2 separate regions of the Homo sapiens genome follow, and region 1 is linked to region 2. Evidence: promoter capture Hi-C in human tissues and cell types (Jung and others, 2019). All regions are on one chromosome and are shown on one strand. The core of a region is centred on a gene start or on the middle of the fragment in contact, and the rest is flanking DNA. Distances in the headings are between cores, read along the strand shown. Region 1 overlaps MSRB3-AS1 (MSRB3 antisense RNA 1). Region 2 holds the start of MSRB3 (methionine sulfoxide reductase B3).

Evidence for each region. The method cuts DNA at HindIII sites, captures the fragments that hold promoters and counts their contacts. A contact is called where the count stands out against the background at its distance.
Region 1: a fragment that was not itself captured here is called in contact with the fragment with the promoter of MSRB3 in region 2 in 1 of the 25 tissues and cell types used here (hippocampus).

What each region holds. Positions count from the first base shown.
Region 1 is chr12:65,618,845-65,622,364 of GRCh38, reverse strand. The region is part of intron 1 of MSRB3-AS1 (MSRB3 antisense RNA 1); the gene reads left to right. It overlaps LOC105369806 (a long non-coding RNA gene), which reads right to left and starts at 69. Exons shown (of 4, transcript XR_945028.3): 1 at 1-69. The HindIII fragment of the contact is 3,074 bases long and covers 188-3,261 here.
Region 2 is chr12:65,276,870-65,280,527 of GRCh38, reverse strand. MSRB3 (methionine sulfoxide reductase B3) reads right to left here and starts at 1,845. Exons shown (of 7, transcript NM_001031679.3): 1 at 1,663-1,845. RefSeq lists silencers at 1,096-1,405, 1,506-1,635. The HindIII fragment of the contact is 15,252 bases long and covers 1-3,658 here.

The DNA of each region.
Region 1 (3,520 bases), core at 475-2,974, 340 kb before region 2:
CTATAAAAGCATTTGCATCCACACGCCTTGTCATATAACTGCAGTGCTTCTGTACAGCGGACAAGGCATTCATCTCTGCCGTTGGGCTTTGCCATGTGACTTTTTCTGGCCAATGGGATGTGAGCAGATGTGTTCTGAACAGAGGCTTCATGGCACTTGCATGGTCCGGTTTGCGCTCTTGGGCATTTGCCATCTGCCATGAAACAAGCAAGTCCCAGTCAGCTACCAGAGTGAGAAATTAGGTAGAGCAAACCTGAACTCACCTAGAGCCTGCCAATGCACAGATCCTTAGCCAAAAAGTGAAACTTTATTGTTGAACCCACTAAGATTTCATAGTTGTTTGCTACCCAGAATTAGTATAGCCCAAATCTGACTAATGTAGCCACAAATAAACATAACTAACTTATTAATAGTAACTCTCCTACCTGGAATTTAATATAGAAAGAAAATTTCACCTTTCATTAAAATTAAAGTTAAAAATAAAAGGCATTTCATGGTTTTTCTAAAGCTTCCTTGAAAGTGAGCACATTAAAATATGAAAAGTGAGGTATATTTCCTAAGACAAACATGATTTAAGGCGCTGTTCTAATGAAGGTGAAATGTCTGGCAGTGAAAGAGCACAGGAGTAGGAGCAGAAAGTGTGTCCTAGCTAGATTTTATGCCCTGTCTTCCCCTGGGTGAGCCACCAAAAATCAAGAAATCCCTGGACATTCCTACATCTAGAACATGAGGACATCGCAGCAGATGGTTGCTAAGGTAGCTTTCTGCTCTAACATCTGATTTGCCATTTTCATGTAGAATTAGAATAAAAATTATCTCATAGCAATAGAAGAAAAGTACTCACTGATGGATGGAAACAAGAATTTTAAAAATATCCCATGGAATTGAATTATTCTATTGTACATAGAATTTAAAAGCAAATGAAAAGAAGGACAGCCTCAAATCAAATCACGTCAAAAGGATAAAACTCTTATAAGGCAGCTTATTCTACAGAATGGCTTGTGGCCATTTTTCTTTGATAAGAAAATAAGTGGAGAAACAGTGTCATCTTTATTTTTTATTTATTTATTTTTACTTACATTTATGTTTATTTAGGACTAAAGAGGGTTATGGAGATTATGGGGGAGCTGAAAACCTCATGGTGTTGGCTTCTGTTTTTTTTCTAATTTCAGTTTATATTTTAGATACAGGGGGTACACATGCAGGTTTGTTACATGTGAATATTGCACCATGCTGAGGTTTGGAGTACAGCCCCCATCACCAAGGTAGTGAACATAGTGCCTGATAGGTAGTTTTTCAACCCATGCCCCCCTCCCAGTAGTCCCTAGTGTCTATCGCTCCCATTTTATGTCCATATGTTCTCAATGTTTAGCTCCTAATGTAAGTGAGAACATGTGGTATTTGGCTTTCTATTCCTTCGTGAATTCACTTAGTACTATGGTCTCCAACTGCATCCACGTTGCTGAAAAGGACATGATTTCATTCTTTTTGTATGGCTTTGTAGCATTTCATGGTGTATATGTGCCACATTTTCTTAATCCAATCTACCGGTGATGGGCACCTGGGTTGATTCCAATGTCTTTGTTATTGTGGATAGTGCAGTGATAAACATACAAGGGTATGTGTCTTCTTGGTAGAATGATTTATTTTCCTTTGGTTACATACCCAGTATCAAAGTATCATTTTTATTAATAAGAATACAATTTAAAAAATAACAAGTCACTGGAAAGTAAATTTGTTGAAAGTTATTCTCATCCAACTTTTACGTAGCAAACGCATGGATCAAGTGTCTGGGTTGCTGTCTGTATTATCCATATTCACTATTCTTAGAACTGCTTCTGTAAAACTGATGTACTAGCCTCTCCAAGCTTTGCTCCAGGTTACAGCCTGCTTCTTTAGGCAGGAACGGAGTTGTAGAAATGGTTGCTCTCTGAAAGACAAACTTTATGGGAGGAATTCCTTTTTAGTGTCTTTTTTTAACTCCTCTTCAAGAAAAATGATCTGTCTTGGTAACATGTCTTGTCTTTTCCTGATCACTTTTTGCAATGTGCCTTCCCCTAGCAATCTGCTACAGCAATCAGCTTTTTCTGCGAAGGAGCCCTGTCATCTCTCAAGGCAGGGAGAATCATCAATGGCATCTCACTTCAACAAATTAGCCACAGTGTTTACACTGCAAGTCCTGGAGGCTGAGCTTTCTTGCATTTCAAGAAATTCCCAGGATTCTAATGTTTTTTCCAAGTGAGAATGTTTTGATCCAATGCATTTTACTTCTCTGGCTTAACATACATTATTCTATGGGCACCTACTGAATGCTTTAAGCCAAACTCTTAGAAATATTAATGCACATACACACATACACTGTTGATGCAAATAAAAAAGGCAGTGTGCTGCAGGAGAGAGAAACTGATTTGAAAGTTAGGAAACTTAGAGATTTACATTCTAGTTCTAGTTCAGGTAAGCCAATCATTAACTGTGTGACTTTAGGCATATCACTTCCCCTAAGATTCTCTTTCCTCCATTGTAAAATGAAAAACAAAGGGCTTGGGTTAGATTAATCCTAATAACTACTCCAGCGCTAGCATTCTATAACTTTAGGCTTCTAATTGGTAGCTAGATAGGGATAAATTGTTAAGGCAAGGCGGTGGAAGCCATTGTGCATAAGTCCTGTGATCAGCTTTTACCCCAAGCAGAAGCTGTAACTTGTCAGGGGCTTATTAAAAGAAGGGCAGCCCTGAAAGACTCACAAAACCCTTGCCTCAATTCTCACACAATATTATTAATATGGCTACAAAATAGTGGTATCACAAGGCGGCTTCAACTGCTGCCACTACTATATTTTATTAGTTGTATTGGTCCTCATGCAGAGCCCAAGGGTCTGAGCATTTGAAGAGCTCATATTATAGGGCTGAGGCTAAGGGAAGAATAATAATAATTAAAAAAAAAAACATAGTCAGGGGTGACCTAAGTAACTTCCTGAAGTTCCTTTCAGGCCCATGAGTTAATGTATAGGAAGAACAAGCTTATTAATCAAAAAACACTGATCTGCTCAATGTCTAATTATACCTGTCACTGTTGTTGCCCACACTTCAGGCCTGATATGTTTCTTCACTGAAGTCACGTGGCTGTATTTTCAGACCAGTTTCTAGTTGCTCTGTGTATTTTCTGTGTGACACATCTCTTCCATGTGACAGTTGAAAATTGTCCAGAGAAACACCAAAACCCCGCTATAGAACAACCCTGCAACCCAGAGACCATACAACCCCTTTCTCTTCTCCTCCCCCGCCCAGAGCCTCCTGTTAAATTTCCAGCCATCTCTCAAGGCCAAGCTCAAACCCTTCCTCCTCCGAGAAGCCTTTCTTGATCCTCTCCCCATCAGTCTTAATCCCTCCATTTCTTATACTCCCCAAGCACTTTGTACCTCTATTATTTTAGCACTTACTTACCAAAGTCTGTCTTACATTAAAGTTATTTTGTGCATATGTTTTTGCCATGACATTTCAAGCTTTTAGAGGGAAGAAAC
Region 2 (3,658 bases), core at 596-3,095:
ACTGGCAAGGGGCCAGTACAGTGGATTCTGGTCTTCGAAGGCCGTTTCACCACAAGTATTAGGTAAGTCAACACATCACTGAGGAAAAAGAAAGCATACATATGTTTCCTGGCAATAAAATCCACTCTTCACTATCCAGCACAGTATTTTTTAGAAATCCATTGAAAAATGTGAAATTAGAACCTGTTGTATTTCCCAAGAAGTGCTATTAAAGTTACTTCCAAAATATGAATCTATAAAAAACAGGGTTTTTTTGAAAAACAATACTATGCAGAAAGAAACATGAAACTGATATCACTGCTCAAGTTACTATTTACAAATTGCAAATTGAATAAAGTTAAATATTGTAAATATCTGCCATTAATCTGAACTGACAATTTTATAAGTTATATGAACCCTGAAGTTTTTTTATAGACAAAATTGTTTTTGAAAATCGATCTTGCCACCAGCGCTGCAAATGAAAATATGAAGAGATAAACCAGAGAGTACTGAATATAATCTATGCTTCATAGAGTCATGTTTCAACTAATTTATGAGTCCTAGTTTGCCATATCTTATTTGACAATTTAGTCTATTGGTAGAAAAAACAAAAGCAAACTAAAATCTCCTAAGAAATCTCAGCTCTAAGGAATTATAATTTATATTCTTCCATTCCCGATAAAATTAAGAAGCAAGAAGCTTTGACGACTACTCATCACAAACGTAAAAGTCCATGCAATTTCACATTTACCTTTATCCCTACCTTTGTACTTTAAAATAACTGCTTTTTAAAATAATAATCTGATATTAAATTCCCCCCAACAGTTCCCACATGATTCAAGAAGATTATCTTATAAAGTCTTACTGTAACGACTTCATAACTGCCACTTCCGATAGCTATTAGCCCTAAACCAAATAAGGCAGGAACAGCACTTTTCATTCATATAGTTTGACTCGAAATAGCCCAGTGTAAAACTTCAAAAATAGACTTGGATGCCTTTTTCTGCTTAAAAACAAAGCAAAACTGATACCTGGCAAACTCGGGGTTCTGTTCGATTTTGGCCTGTGAAATGCCAGGCGGGCCCGCTGGAGTCTGGCCCAGCAGCGGGGCAGCAGCGCAGGGAGGGCGGGCGGCGGGTGCGCTCCCGGGTGCGCCCCTCCCTGCCGCCTGCCCGCCGCCCCGCACCCCCGTCCTCTCCGAGGCGCGCGGCGAAAAGCGCAGGCCTGGCGGGCCGGTTCCCACGCCTCGGGCCCGTTATCTGAGCGGCAACCCCGGCAGGGTCGACGCACAGAGCAGAGGGCTCCGGGATGGACCCCTCCCCTGCCTCCCGCGGGCTGCCCCGCCAGATCCCTCTCTCCTGGGCCCGCGCGGGGCGAGAGGCTCCCGCGGGTTCAGGTTCGCTCCCGGGACAGGATAAGGTGTCAGTGAGGCTGCCAGACGCCTCCCTTCGGCGGGTGGGGGGAAACCAGCCCTGACCTCCTTCCGTTCGGCCCCTCACCGCTGGCGCGGGGCGCAACCCTTCTGCTCCCCTTCTCGGCTGAGGCAGGGGCTGTCCCCGCAGGTGGCCGAGGGGGCGCAGCAGGCGCAGAATGGAATCCCGGCTCGGGGTCACACCCTAACGTGGCAGGGTCGGGGTGGGAGGGGTGAGGCGAGGAGGAGAGGGGAGGGGAGCCCGAACTTACCGGACTGCGCACTTCCCAGAGCCGCGGCCAGGCAGAGGCAGAGGCAGAGGGAGAGGCAGAGCGAGAGGGGGCGCGGGAGGGTCCGCCGCGGGCTCATGGAAAGGCCAGGCAGCCGCCGCCGGTGTCCGAACCTCGCTCCCTCCCTCCCCGGCTCCGGGCGACGGACGGGGCGGCGGGAGGCATGACGGGAAATTCCTGGGCACGGGCAGCCGAGTCCAAATATGAGCATAGGAGACGAGCGAGGGAGGACCACGGAGCGCGCCGGCCGCGGACGGGGCCCGCTGCCCGGGGCTCGGCGGCCGCCAACTCCCTCCTCCTCTGCCCTGTCCTCTTCCTCCTCCTCCTCCTCCTCTGCACCGTCCTCCTCCTCCTCCTTCTCTGCCCTGCCCTCCTGCTCCTCTCCTCCCCCTCGTCCTCCTCTGCCCCAGGGCTGCCGGCCGCCTTCTGCCTGGGGGCATCCCTTTCCAACTCGGGACCCCAGAACACAGCCAAGCGCCCACCTGGCGTGTTCCACCTGAGACCGCTGAAGGAGTGGGAAACGGACAAACCAACACGAAGAGACCGGACAGCGAGCCAGGGACCTGTGGGAAGACGTGTCAGGGGTTGTTGAGAGCGTTGGTGGTGAGGGGATAAAAAGTTGTGGGAGAGTGAGGCAGGAGCAGGGCTGCCAGTTAGTTACTTGGCCATCCTATACATACAGAACGAGCACTCACTGTAATACGGAGAACCAGCCGCCTGCGTTCCAGGTGAGCGGGCCCTCTCTAGCAGAGGAGGGTGAGTGTGTGTGTGTTCTTGGCCAAAATTGCAAAGGTGCTCGTCCCAAACTTATATTTGAACACCATATATGGAGCCCAGGCAGGCTGGCTGAACAGTAGTTTTTCACAACAAAATGCTTAAGTTTACACCGGTCTTTCTCTCCACCTCCAATCTCTATTCATGTCCACCCCCCAACCCCCTCCACACACTTGTTTTGTATGTACCGTAGCTTGTCTAAAATGAAATGGTGTAATTCATTCAGAAGGTGCCACCTCTGATGAACAAAATGTCAGTCCTAGATGTTTAATTACAGGCCCAAGCCTGTAGTTGCCTAATTTTCCTTGGCACTGATAACTCCTTGGGTAATCAAGTCCAAATGACCCTTAGCTTTTCAAGACAACATAATTATGTCTTAATTACTATAATATATTTTTTCCCTCAAACTAATGGGACAGGACCTGGATATGTAGGGTATTAAGTAGTTACTTACGAACATTTTAAGATGCTAGATGATACAGAAATGATTTATTGATCCAAAATACTTAAGGGGTAAATGTCAAACAGATTTAGAGTGTGGATTATTTCAACGTGAACTAAAGTGATGGTAATTTGTACATCACACTATTTGTTTGAAAATGCTGTATTTGAAAATCAAGAACGTTGTTTCAAATCAAACTCAGTTCTGGCAAACTATTAAAACACATACACCAAAAAACAGTCCATTGCAAGTGGCTCCCCTCAAAACATCTGGTACTGAAAAACACCACATCCTGTGAATTACATATAGCAAATGGGCAAATGTCACCCTTAATGCATTGGCAATTATAATGGGACTAAGGGTAGATGACCCAGATAAAGTAATGGTGAATAAATTGTAATGCAATGAATAAAGGATTTAAATGACACATAACATGACTATTTAATTAGGTACCTAGAACCTAGGTAGTTGGAAATACTGAAGAAGCTCTTCAGTATTCCCTCCGTTTCCTCTTTTTTTATAGCCTTGTGTTACATAAGTGTCTGTTTTTCTACTTCCCCCACAACACTTTGCAAAGTTCTTTGCCCATAGTCCAAATGTTTGTTTAAAAACAAAAATAAAATGGGCACAGCCATTTGTAGAAAGGAATTTAGAAGCTCCCTAAGTGTAAAGCATGTTTCAAAGGATTGCAATAATTATGCCTATATTTAAAATATTTTAGTGAAGAACCTTACATACAAAAATATAGAATTATAAAAAATG